4 separate regions of the Homo sapiens genome follow, and regions 1, 3 and 4 are each linked to region 2. The links are contacts of gene promoters, found by promoter capture Hi-C in blood cells and fetal thymus (Javierre and others, 2016). All regions are on one chromosome and are shown on one strand. The core of a region is centred on a gene start or on the middle of the fragment in contact, and the rest is flanking DNA. Distances in the headings are between cores, read along the strand shown.

Region 1 (3,200 bases), core at 512-3,011, 260 kb after region 2:
TCTTTTCCTCATTCCTTAACTCAAGGACTCACCTCCAACAAGCCAGTCACCTAAGCAAACTCTACTGTCCCCACCTCCTCCCATTCCTCACCTCCTCAGCTCGCTTCTCTCCTTCACGGCTCCTGCCCTGGTGAATCTGTATCCCATGTCTACATCTCAGCAACAGCCTCCAGATGGACGTTTCGGCCGCCATCTTTCCCTTATCCATTCCTGACCCCAGACCATCCTTCACACTGGCTGCCAGAATGGGATTTCTAAATTACAAATATAATCATACCACTTACTTTCTTACATTCTTCAGGGCCCTTTTGCCTTCAGGGTAAAATTTTTTTTTTACCTTCAGGGTAAGAACGTTTTGGCTTGTCATACAAGGTCCTTAATGACTGGGCTCTGGGCCGGGCGCGGTGGCTCACACCTGTAATCCCAACACTTTGAGAGGCTGAGGCGGGCAGATCACAAGGTCAGGAGATAAAGGCCATCCTGTCCAACACGGTGAAACCTCGTCTCTACTAAAAATACAAAAATTAGCTGAGTATGGTGGCATGCGCCTGTAATCCCAGCTACTCAGAAGGCTGAGGCAGGAGAATCGCTTGAACCCGGGAGATTGCAGTGAGCAGAGATCGTGCCACTGCACTCCAGCCTGGCAACAGAGCAAGACTCCGCCTCAAAACGACAACAACAACAACAACAACAACAACTGGGCTGTGCCCCATTCTGTTGCTTGGTTCCCAACACTTAATTCCTTGTGTTCCAGCCAAGGACTAACTCTATTTCCTAGAATGTATATGTTTTCTTAGCTTGTCATATTTTTGTTTCTATTATTTCCTCTCCTGGGAATGCTTAGCTCCTTGCCTGATTACCATCCATTTTGCCTCAGTTCAGATGCTACTTCCAATGAAAAGCTTTCTGCCATCTGACACACCTTCCTTCCCCTTCCCTTTCCCTGTCCTCACGCTGTGCACGTGAGCACAGGGGGACCTGCTGGGCTGCTTCCTGTCATCCCTTATTGAGTTCAAACACCAACTCCCTACTTTTAAGGAGTCAGACAAGTGGATGCACCGCCATCTGGTTTCCTGTTACTAAATTCAGGCCTGATCTTGTCTGATTCCTTTCTTTCTGAAATTCTTCCCTTGGTATCTGAAACATCACCATCTTTTTGTTTTCCTCTTTCCTGGCCAGTCTTCTGTTACCAAATGGTCTCTAATGCTACTACAGGTTTTTCAAAATATATAGTCACATGCTCCTGTAGATTCACATTTTAAAAGTTTCCCAAGTGATTCTAATGATCAGCCAGGTTTGAAACCAGACTCTTGCACAGAATCCTTACATATTGAGAGTTCCTTGGTGCTTGGTCCAAGGCCCTCTGCTCTTCTCAGTTGATACTCTCCCCAGCCATTGCACCATTTCTTGCGGATTCAGTTACCACCTAAATGCAGACCACTTTCAGATTTGCATCCTTTATCTGGCTCTTTCTCCAAAGATGCATACCCAAGGCCAGGTATGGTGGCTCATGTCTGTAATCCCAACACTTTGGGAAGCCGAGGCGAGTGGATCACTTGAGGTCAGGAGTTCAAGTCCAGCCTGGCCAACATGGGTGAAACCTCGTCTCTACTAAAAAAATACAAAAATTAGCCAAGCATGGTGGGGCCTGCCTGTAGCCCCAGCTACTTGGGAGACTGAGGCACAAGAATCACTTGAACTCGGAGGGTGGAGGTTTCAGTGAGCCTGGGCGACAGAGGAAGACTCCGTCTCAAAAAAAAAAAAAAAAAAGCATACCTGGACGTAAAATTCCTTTCCCTAGTATAAACTCAGATGCTTACACGCATCTTTCACTCCGCATGGCAAAAACAGAATTCATCATCCTCTCTGCTCCTCTAAAACAGATTCCTCCTTCAGTGTTTCCTGTCTCAGCAAATGCCACGATTAGCCACCAGTTCTTCAGACCAAAACTTGGGAGTCATCCTTGACTCCTCCCCTTCCTCCACTCCACACCATAACCGTATTCCAGCCACCATCTCTCTCTGGACTTGCAAAGTGGCCTTATGCGTTCTCTTTCTGCCTCCACCTTTGGTCCGTGCAACCCAGTTCCAACATGCGATTCCAGATGATTTCTTTAAAGATACAAATGTGCATTTTTCAGATCACACCGCCTGCTTGAAACCATTCAGTGGCTTCCTGTGGTCCCTAGAATGAAGCCCATTGTCCACGAGGTGGTTCCAAAGGTCCTTAGAGACCTGCCATCTCTCCAGCTTGCCTCTGTCCCAGGTCCCTGCACTCCTGCTCAGTTTTCACTTTTGTTAGTTCCAACAACCAGCTGTGCCCCTCCTCCCTCAGGCCTTGACACACTGCTCCTCCTGCCTGGAAGCTGCTTTTCTCCCGACCCCACCCTCCTCTGGTCTCACTAAATTCCACGCACCCTTCCTATCTTGGCTGACATGCTACATTTTCAGTGTTCCCTCTCCTCTGGTCTGGTTCCACATTCCCATCAGTCTCTCTCAGTTATTTAATCCCTGTTGATTACCTTTTTTTCTTTTTTTTTGGGAGGATCTTTCTATGTAGCCCAGTACATACATTTCTAGTAGGGAAGGAAAGATATTATATTTGTCTTCTCAGCTGGACTTAAGCTTCCTATAGGCAGTTGCCAGAGTCATCAGGGATTGAGTGGCAGAGCATCAACAGATGACAGCAACAAGGAGAGTGGGAGAAATGCTGGAGGACATTGGCTTGAGAAACCTGCCCCATGATCACCGTGGTAGTGCCAGTTACTACCAGTGTTGGCACATACCAGGATCCCATATACTTGCTGCATATGTAACTCATGGGTTTCCTTGTCCATTGGTAAAGATAAATTAATACTGATGACTCAACATTCTGCTAGCTTATGTGTTGAGACAGGGCCTAAGGCTGCCCTAAGTTCCCTCCTCAGTTATTCCTGAAAACTTGCAGGGTGTGTCTCACCCCTGCCGTAGTGTGCGCCCTCTCTTGCACTTCCTCTTCAGCTTCCTTCCTGGTACTTGCAGCTCCTGTTTCCCTCACCAATGCCACACTTCCTTTGGCAAAGGCTGCTGGGGCTTTCTCTGGGATATTGATGCCCTGACTGCGGTGTACCAGTTAAGCAGCCTCAGCCAGAGTCTTGATCCCAGTTAAGACAATGATTAAGAATGAATAATGTGCCTGCTAAGCTACTATGTATGACTTGA
Region 2 (3,225 bases), core at 505-3,004:
CAGAAAAATATAATGCCAGTTCCAGACTCAGGCTTTAAGAGAATTAGCATCTTTCCTCCTCCTTAACTCTCTTGGAAGCCAGTCACCATGTAAGAAAGCTTAGGCTAAACTCCTGAATGGAGAGAGGCCTTGTGGAGAAGAATCAAGTAACTTCAACCAAGAGGCAACACCAAGACTTCAGCAATTTGAGTGAAGCCATCTTGGACCTTCCACCCCAGTTAAGTGAAGATAGCTGACACATCATAAAGCAGACTAGCCATCTCCGCTAAGCCCTTCCTGAATTCCTGGCAACAGAACTGTGAGCAATAAAACATCTGCTGTTTTTAGTCACTAAGTCTTGAAGTGGTTCATTATGAAGCAATTGATAATTTATAAACAAATTAATATTATTTGGTTTTTTGCTTTGTAAAATTGCTGTAGTCATTTCACAATGATAAAATTATTTAGTGAGTCACTAATAGCTTTGAATGCTAACGAACATTTTTCTCAAATATGTGTTTTAAGTCTTGGCTCACAAAGGAGAATTTGTTTCTATGTATGTATGTATCGCTTTGTTATTATCCTGTGTACTTTTTTAATATAACATTTTAAAAATATGTAACATTTAAACATGTAAAATGTAACGTTTTAAAAATAAATACAAATAAATGGGAAACGATTTGCAACAAACGAGTTGCTATCCTTAATAAGCAAAAAATTCTCACAAATAAAAAAGAAAAATCTTACTCCCTTAATTTTTTAAATGGGAAAAGCCATCTCTGAAGAACCATAAATGGTCAGTAAACATGAAGGGGGACTATCTTAAGCTCACAAAGTTGAAACATGAGGCATCATTTTTCACCGACTAAATAGCCAAAGAAAAATTTAAACAGTGAGACAATACCAGCAAGCTTCCACTGAAGAACGGGAAGACCCTAAGATAGGCTCCAGGAGTCTACGATACCAGTCTCCTTGAACTATGGGGACGTGGACGTCCCTGGTCACAAGTTGCCTGACTTTGGGCGATGTCTACGGCTGTAAATTTGGGATTATATAGCCACAGCACAGAACTGTTGTAAGGCTCCAGTGATACTCATAGGCAAAAGCAATATAAGTGACTGTTAGTTTTTGTTCAGCCTATTCATCCTTACATTTACTTTTGTCGGAAAAGAACTGGAATCACAGGAAAATCTGAGGTTTTTTTTTTTTTTTTTTTTTTGAGACAGAGTCTCGCTCTGTCGCCCAGGCTGGAGTGCAGCACATCTCAGTTCACTGCAAGCTCCGCCTCCCGGGTTCACGCCATTCTCCTGCCTCAGCCTCCCGAGTAGCTGGAACTACAGGCGCCCGCCAACATGCCCAGCTAAATTTTTGTATTTTTAGTAGAGACGGGGTTTCACCGTGTTAGCCAGGATGGTCTCTATCTCCTGACCTCGTGATCCGCCCGCCTCGGCCACCGCGCCCGGCCGAAAATCTGAATATTTTAATGGAAAACTGGGAGTGAGATTCGGGAATTACTTGAGACCAACAATGATGGGTGGTGCCAGGAGAAAGCCAGGGTGGGAACGGCCCAGGCGAGATGCGGGACCCTCCAGGTGCCGCCGCTCACAAGGACCCCTGACTCCTAGCGCACCCTCCCCTGGCCTTGGAGATTCCGCCGGGCTAGCGGCTACCGGGAGAAGGCGGTGGAAACTGTAGAGCCCGCGGCTCTGATTGGCTACCTCAGAGCAAGGGGCGGGGCGGCGGAGGACCCGAAGGGCGCGAGAGCGGAACACTGCGTACGCGCACTTCCGGTCTTTGTGGCTTGCAGCTCGGGGTGGGTGGCTCATTTCCTGGCCGCTCCTGGGCTTCGCGGTGAGGGACGTGGGCCCCTAGGAAGAGGGAGGTGGGGTTGGGAGCGCGCGCCGGACAGTGGAGGAGCTCCGCTCCTCGGCCTGCCCATCCCCAGGTCGCGGCCCTTTGGCCCGCGCGGCGTCTCCAAGCGACTGGGGAACTCAGAGGAGGCCAGCACTCAAACTCCTGCTTTCCAAAGGAAAACGCAGTTCCGCTGACCCCGTGACTTCGTAAATGCTGCGGTTTAACCAAGGATATAAAAATAGAAGGGCTAGTTAGTTAGTTAGTTAGTGCGGCCGGACTGGTTAAACCTTAAATTTGTAGGCTAAATATTTTAATTCATCTCTTAACGTTAACCGTAGTGTGAGGAATGAATTTTACTCATCTGTCCTGACAAACTAAGGGCATACATTCCTATCGATATCTCGCCATCCTAAAAGCAGGTCAAGTTTGGTCTGTGTCACAACATTTAATACCTATTTGTTACCATATTTTGCTTTTGAACATTTTTAGTCTTGGGATATTCTAAGCTTTTTCAGAACTGATACGGATCTCTTTGCTGCTTTTGTGTATGTGATACCTATCATGTTTTTGAACACATGGTAAGCATTTTACAGATACGTCTTGGTTCTTGGTCAATTCCTCTGTAGACTCGTTTATTCATAAGCAAAAATCTTAATGCTCAGTAAGTGCCTCAGTGTTTGTTGAAGTAATTCGGTAAACACCAAATGCGATCAAATGACAAATATCCAATATTTACATCAACTCATGTTTAATGTGAACTTTTAAAAAAACGTTATTACTGCCTTAAATGAAAATCAACATTACTTGCTTTAGATAGAAAGTAAGTAAAAATAAATGTTTAAAATCAGTATTACTAAATTCTGCCTAAATATTTTTACTCTTGGAAGTCTGATTCTGAAGCCTGTATTTTATTTAAAAGAGAGTTCTACAAGTTTTATTAATACATACATGTTAAAGATAGACTTTTCTCCTTGATACAATCAGAATTGAAAGAATTGGAAAGGAAATTTTCTCACTATGTGATTGATGTTAATGTTGCATTCACATTCTTAGGCTTCTAAAATAGTTTTTTCTAACATTAGTGGTAGGAATTCTTCATAATGGGAGACACTAATTGAGGTTAATGATTTTTAGTTTATCATCACATTATTGTTTTATTTAGTGATAGCCCCAAATCTACTCCCTTTCAATATATTACTAAAGTTACTCATCTTTCTTATTACAAGTACTTAGAGATTTTATTGATTGCTGTAAGTTAACTGCTTTTATATCCTTCAGGAAAGAAGAGATTACTCACACTCCTTCGCAAGCACAGAACCAGTTGTACTGAGCTTTTTGCTAAGCTGTTTCAGCCAAGAATGGCTGTGGAATCTGGAGTGATTTCAACCCTGA
Region 3 (3,732 bases), core at 916-3,415, 280 kb before region 2:
TAACTTTTAGCATGGGAAAAAAATAATAAATAAATAAATAATAATTTTTAATAGCTACAAGTACTCTGAAGAAAATTCAACAGGTAATGTGATGAAAAATGAGGGAGAGGCATTTAACAAGTGTTTGTTGAATGAATAAGCAAACATTTAGTTTCTCTCTCAGAGACATAGAACCATTATCAAACTAAATAAAAATGAGAAAATGATTGTGTTAACATTTTGCTTAAATTAACATATTAAATTTAGATCACGTGTTTCAAAGTGAATTCTGTGCTAACATAAATTCTATGTTAATCACGGAACAGAGGATATGATTTATTTTATTTGCCACTGATAAATTTTATCACAGATACTGATAGATTCTGTCACAGCACTAACATTACTCATAGCTCATAGAATTGCAGAAGTAATTTTTTGTACACTGTTACTGTTCATACAATTTTTATTATGATATAAAAGACTATCATAGACATAGTTAGCCAATTCTGGTCAAAGATACACATTCCAAACCATTTTAAAATTGAAATTAATCCAATAAATTATAATAGCATTGAAGATTTTAGTTCCTGAAATAGTTTATTGTTGAGTGTTTACGGTATAACATGAGTTATCACAAAATAAATAGGATCTTTTAAAAATTAGTGAATCACAATGGCCTCGGTTCTCCAGTGATATTTTAATGGCAGAATATGTACGTGAACAGAAAGACAGTCATGAATTGATGACCATAACCTTGAACCAGGGTTCAAAAACTTTAAAACTGTGTTCTATCTTTGCTAATGACACAGGTCATAACTTCACGCAATAAAACTTCATTCATCAGCCCTTTCTTTCCAGTCCATTGGAAGTCCTGTCTCTACACCAACTACTCTGTGACAGAAAGTCTCTTGAATACTAAAGGGATCATAATACCGTGCCTAACTCACAAAAATGTTACAGAATCTAGTTATATAATAGATTGAAAAGTGTTTTAACACCATATGCACATGTGCATAATATGATCTTACTATTTAATGCTCATGTATGTGAGAGCTTGAAGTGGCATGACTGAGGAAGTTGATTTTGAAGCCATTTGAAACAAAAAGTCATATAAAACAATATAGTAAACTGAAAAGAAAATAGATACTAAAAATTATGTACTGCTAGGCCATTTCAAGCAGTGATCTACAGTCTTTGAAAGGAAAACATTTGCTCTCATTTTAATAGCAATAATAAAGTGTTCTGTGTCAGCCTAGCTTATGTTAGCCTTAGCAGTACAGCAAAGCCAAGTTCTAAGCTTCTGATTTCTTCTTGGACCAATCCAGAAATGTGGGGTCATCCAGGTCGCTATATGGTGCCAGTAGTATATGCCATATCCTTCCAGGTGTCCTGGGCATTGGCATTCCATCTTTCTTAAAAAATACTTTGATCAAGTCTAAAACATTATTGTTTTTCATCAAGTCTAAAGCATCATTGAATATGACAATCAACGTATTATTATTATACATAATAGACGTATATAATTTCAGAGTATGTGATAATACATTCATATAATTTGTAAAGATCAAATCAGTGTAATTGGGATGTCCATCATCTTAAATATTTGTCTTTTCTCTATGCTAGAAACATTCAAATTATTCTTTCAACTATCTTCAAATATACAATAGATTATTGTAAAGTATAGTCACCCTACTCATCTATCAAACAGTAGGTCTTATTTAATCTATCAAACTGTACCCATCAATCAACTTCTTTTCATTTCCTCCTCTCCCCTACTCTTCCTGGCCTCTGGTAACCACCAATCTATTCTCTATCTTCATGAGATCTACTTTTTTTCTTCTATATATGAGTGAGAACATGTAATATTTATCTTTCTGTGCCTCGCAACATTACTTTTTAATGTATCCTATGAAAGAAAGTTCTATTAAATTATGACATGCCATGGATTGTATAATACATGCCAATTTCAAGGATTTTAAAAGGTAAAAAAAAGTTTGTCTTAGAATCAATGAATATAATAATTATTTTGTTAGCATAAAAGTAATGTATATTTGTTAAAAACCTGAAAAATACTGAGTATTAGCTGAAATATGGTTGCAGGTAACAGAAAAGCTTGATTATGTAAGAAAAATGTGTGTAACTGAAAATCCAGAGGAAGAACAGAGGGTAGAGTTGATTTAATTCAGGAACTAATGGCTATCACAACAGCAGTTTCTTTCCATCTCCCTGCTATGTCTCCCATTGTGTCAGCCTTCTTGAGACAAGCTTCTTTCGTGGTATCTGTTCCAGGTTTCCCATCTGCACCCCCTACACTACAATGGAGACAGAAATTCTATCCTAGCATTCTAAGTAAAAAATCTTTTTTTTTTTTTTTTTTTGAGATGAAGTCACACTCTTGTCCCTAGGCTGGAGTGCAATGGTGCAATCTTGGCTCACTGCAACCTCTGCCTCCCCGATTCAAGTGATTCTCCTGCCTCAGCCTCCTGAGTAGCTGGGATTACAGGAACCTGCCACCACTCCCGGCTAATTTTTGTATTTTTAGCAGAGATGGAGTTTCACCATGTTGGCCAGGCTGGTCTCAAACTCCTGACCTCAGGCGATTCACCCGCCTCGGCCTCCCAAAGTGTTGGGATTACAGGCGTGAGCCACTGCACCCGGCCTCTAAGTAAAAATTGTAATATTCATCTGCTAAGGTCATCTAAGTCATCTCAGTTCACCTGAATTGTAACCGTTTTTAGGAAAGTGAAAATGTACATGAAATGTATAGGGACCGAACAGGGAAAACTGAAAAATTTTCTTATTACTAAAAAAAAAGAATGTAAAAATGAATGCTTGAAAAGTGTGATGGTTAATTTTACTAGTCAACTTGGCTAGGCAGTGGTGCCCAGTTGTTTGGCGTCAGCACCACAGGCCAAACACACACACACACACACATACACACAACTACATATACAAAGAGAGAGACTGATTTATTTTTGACACACAAAAGCCAATAAAAATGTCTACTAAAACTTTGGGAGGCCAAGGCAGGTGGATCACCTGAGGTCAGGAGTTCGAGACCAGCCTGGCCAACATGGCAAAACCCTGTCTCTACAAAAATACAAAAATTATCTGGGCGTGATGGTGCGTGCCTGTAGTCCCAGCTACTCGGGAGGCTGAGGCAGGAGAATCGCTTGAACCCAGGAGGTGGGGGTTGCGGTAAGCCGAGATCGTGAGATTGTGACACTGCACTCCAGCCTGGGAGACACAGTAAGCTTCCGTAAAAAAAAAAAAAAAAAGGGAAAAGTATAAAAAGAAAAAAATAGAAATCCCCTATAATCAGGAATATCACCATTTTAAAATGTTTTATTCAACTTTATCTATTTACTTACTTTTACATGTATGAAAACATATGGGAACTTACTTTACTCAAATGACATCACACTGCATATATCAGATTCAAAACCTTGGAATCTTGTTTTTGTCCCGTAATATATTAAAGTGATCATTTTTCCATGCCCCTAAGTATCTTTAACGTAAATACCTAAATATATTTAACTGCTGATTTTTTTCAGCAGCTACCAAATAATCCATCACATAACTGAACTACAATCTGTTTAACTAGTTGACTGTTTCTGGGCTTTTTGATGATTTCTTTTTCTTTAACTACACAGTGCTCTCTCCTGATTTGAAAAAGCCAGTCAGACACTGTTTCTGGAATCTGAGGTTTCTAGAAGCCAGGATCAAAAGTGTCGCACTTGGTTCCACTTCATG
Region 4 (3,521 bases), core at 316-2,815, 330 kb after region 2:
CACATGTGTGTATATGTCTGAGTGTGATTATGTGTATGCTAGGGTATATGTGTCACATACACATACAGACACATGCACACACACACACACACACACACACACACACACACACACACACACAAAGTCCATTATTAGGATTTCAACTTCCTCTGCTTTAAGATTTGTCTTCCAATCATTTGTCTGAGAAGATACATTAAGAAAACTCCTGAAGGGGCTGGAGTGTGGTGGCTCATACCTGTAATCCCAGTACTTCTGGAGGCTGAGGCAGGTGGATAACCTGAGGCCAGGAGTTCAAGGCCTGCCCGGCCAACATGGTGAAACTCTGTCTCTACTAAAAATACAAAAATTAGCCAGGCGTGGTGGCGCATGCCTGTAATCCCAGCTACTTGGGAGGCTGAGGCAGGAAAATTGCTTGAACCTGGGAGGAGGAGGTTGCAGTGAGCCGAGATTGTGCCATTGCACTCCAGCCTGGGCAACAAGAGCGAAATGCTGTCTCAAAAAGAAAAGAAAAGAAAACTCTCAAAGGACAATTTTTAATGTCCTATCTCATCTAACTTAGTCAACATCAGTTAGTTATCTAAGTTACTAACAGATACCCAAAGAAATATAAACATTGTAAGGCCTTCTGAACACGGCAACACCTTTTGAGGGTGGGGTGGGTGGCAACTGTTTGGCAAGTGCATGCAGTTATCCTTTTGCAATACAGATCTTTAGGTTTTTAATTTCTGGAACGAGATCTATCAAAAAACTGAGACTTTCTTGGAAGGTCTCCAGGAATGGGAGTGGATAGAGCCAGCTCTACCTGCCCCAAGATACTCCTAAGGGTGGAGCTCAGAGAACTATATTTTTAACAAGCATCTCTGGAGAATTCTGAATCACACTAAGGACTGGGAAATATGATTTTAAGGGATCTCAAGGCTTCAGCATAAAAGAAGTAAGCTCTTTTTCTATGCTTTAAAATATCAATTTCTCTAGAATATTCCTTGTTTTCTTTTATTGGAGACAAGGAAATTATAAAGACATTTGAAGATGGTATTCTCACTTTATTCATTTTTTGGGAAACTGTCCTGGGTCTATATTTCCAATCACATCTCATTCATTCTCTGCTACTCTGAAAAGAGCTCATGTCATTATTCACTGTGATGATGGGAATCTGGCCTTAGACGACATCTAGGAGTACAGCCTCAAGAAACAGACAAAAATGGTCATGGTTACAGGATATAATTTCTATAATCCTAAAAAGAGTATAGCAACAGTCTCAAGGAGATAAAACCTAGCCAGCAAGAAGCTTATTATAAATGTGATCTAGTTACAAGTCAAAAAGAGGAAATAAAAATAATTATTTTTAACTTCTGTAGTCACTAATTAAATGAATGACCTATTGTAATATAATTTGAAATATTTATTTGGAGAAGAATTACTAGAAAAACTAACTTTAGATTTTAGCAAAAAGAGAAAATAAACAAAGAAGTGGCTGACTTTGTTCCCTCTTCATAAAGTTCCAGAATTTAACATTTTCATCAGAAGGTACAAAAATAGCCTCTACACAATCTTATGAGACACAAAGTGAATAACTGAACTCAATTTGCCTTATTAAAATTTATTATATAACAGCCATTTAATCATTTTTTAGCTGGACTGTAAATGTCCTCCTATAGACTGAAATGCTCTGAGAAACAATTGTGCTCTCTTATATGTCACCCACGTCTTCAACACTGCTGACTATGTAATGAGACATTAAAAATGCCTGTGGGTTAAGTAACTGCTTTTTTAAAAGGACTCATTGTGAACTCAAATATCCTTATGAAATTTTAGTATACCAAGTTAAAGAGAAAACTTTTAAAAGCTTTCTGAGAGCAAAAACAACTAATTTGCAGTGAGATGAGAATCATATCAACTTTCAGATTTTCCAGGTTTAGATGGACTACAATGAAACAACGGCTTCAAAGTGCTAACAGAAAGTGGCATAAGCCATAGAATTCTATGCCCAGCCAGTTTACCAATCTGCAAGTCAGACTGAAAGGAGTCAACATTAAATTCTTTTTCTGGAAAAAAAAAAGTCACTTGAGCATATGCTCTAGGAAAATGAAAATGGAAATCAAAAAAGATGAATACATGGAATCCAAGAAATAATGGCCACAAATCAGAATAGCGATAAAAAGAATTCCTAGTAAAGGCAATTGTTTCGAATTAAGCACATAGTCAGACTTGGAGATGAATGTGTTTAATAAGAAAATAAATTCACTTCAGCAATTAAATATGATTTAAGAAGGCGTATGAATTTACAAATAGAATGAAGGTAATTGTTTTTCTGTTAACAAGATAATAAAATAAGACAAACAGAAATTCCTTGAAAAATAAAAAGCTCTACAGCAAAATCAGTCTATATAAAACAAATTAAATGTAGCACAATTCTGAACAGGGGTGTAATGAATGATAAACCATTTGATCTTGGTTTCTGAAGTATTCATCTTGTAGCTACACATATTTAGGAGAAGTGTTCCATTTCCTTTTCTGCAAGTCCAACTAAAGTTTTTGGTTCTATGGAAAATAATATGTATGCAATTACAGTATTGTAAGTGCCCTTTATTGGATTCTAGTTTTTTAAATCATCTTATATACAAGGCATAGAAGATAATAATAGTTCTAAAACACAATGGAAATGTCATAAACCATGGTGTAAGAGTTGTGAGATAGAAAGGGAAAAGGAGGTATGAAAATGTAAGGGTGTATGTAGCCTCATTATTTTTTATAATGAAGACTTGAGAGATGCTATCAAAAGTTGAATGATCAAGGAAACACTTTACCTATCAATTTAAAGTTACAAAGTAAGCCAGTAGAAGAACTATGTATAATACTACTAAGACACTTTGAGAAGAGGAGGGAGACAGGAGTGGTGTTAATGAGCTCTATTCCTTGTCTTCGATACGTGGGACTCAATAGATATTTGTGTATGATAGCTTGGCTTATTGATCCCAATTCTGCTCCCTCCTGTGAAGAATTATACATCCACACTCTTCGTCGTGTGATTTTTCGCATGCTTCCTGGTAGAGCACATATAGTGCCATCCCTACTCCGTTGACTCTCACTTTGGCCGTGTGAATTATTTTCAACAATGGAATGTGGGTGGAAGTGACAGTGGCCAGTTGTAAACAGAGGCTTCCAAAAATATCATGTGTTTGTGTTGCTCCTCTTCAGCTGTGGCCGTCTGCCATGGGAAGAACATGCCCTAAATAATGGCCACTTCTTTAGCCTAAGTCCCAAAATGAGAAGATGCATACAGCCAAGCCTGACTAAGTCCAGCATAGCTGCAGACAGTGACTCATGAGCTTGAAATAAGTGTTTGTTGTTGTAAGCCACAATTTGGGGATTGTTTGTGCGGCAGCAAAAATTGATAAACATACTATCTGAAGTTGATGAACTGAGAATGGGGACTATATTATTTAGAGTTAGAGGAGGAATCTACCAGGAGAGGGAGGAGTGGCAACCACCTAACAAAAATGGTTAGTTACTTCTAAAGA

The links. Contacts are between HindIII fragments. The CHiCAGO score rates a contact against its expected background, and 5 or more counts as called.
Region 1: a fragment that was not itself captured here is called in contact with the fragment with the promoter of ZNF397 in region 2 in 9 of 17 cell types (non-activated CD4 T cells, activated CD4 T cells, naive CD4 T cells and 6 more); the score reaches 11.8 in non-activated CD4 T cells.
Region 3: a fragment that was not itself captured here is called in contact with the fragment with the promoter of ZNF397 in region 2 in 4 of 17 cell types (activated CD4 T cells, total CD8 T cells, naive CD8 T cells and 1 more); the score reaches 7.2 in activated CD4 T cells.
Region 4: a fragment that was not itself captured here is called in contact with the fragment with the promoter of ZNF397 in region 2 in 2 of 17 cell types (total B cells and total CD8 T cells); the score reaches 6.2 in total B cells.

What each region holds. Positions count from the first base shown.
Region 1 is chr18:35,499,352-35,502,551 of GRCh38, forward strand. No RefSeq gene overlaps it. Among named protein-coding and RNA genes, the nearest start is that of INO80C, 3.0 kb to the left of the region's middle. The HindIII fragment of the contact is 1,722 bases long and covers 901-2,622 here.
Region 2 is chr18:35,239,280-35,242,504 of GRCh38, forward strand. ZNF397 (zinc finger protein 397) reads left to right here and starts at 1,755. Exons shown (of 4, transcript NM_001135178.3): 1 at 1,755-1,830; 2 at 3,112-3,225. The coding sequence starts at 3,192. RefSeq lists enhancers at 1,437-1,546, 1,492-2,017 and a silencer at 1,807-1,936. The HindIII fragment of the contact is 1,449 bases long and covers 889-2,337 here.
Region 3 is chr18:34,961,528-34,965,259 of GRCh38, forward strand. No RefSeq gene overlaps it. Among named protein-coding and RNA genes, the nearest start is that of MAPRE2, 78 kb to the right of the region's middle. The HindIII fragment of the contact is 153 bases long and covers 2,090-2,242 here.
Region 4 is chr18:35,569,622-35,573,142 of GRCh38, forward strand. No RefSeq gene overlaps it. Among named protein-coding and RNA genes, the nearest start is that of GALNT1, 10 kb to the right of the region's middle. The HindIII fragment of the contact is 558 bases long and covers 1,287-1,844 here.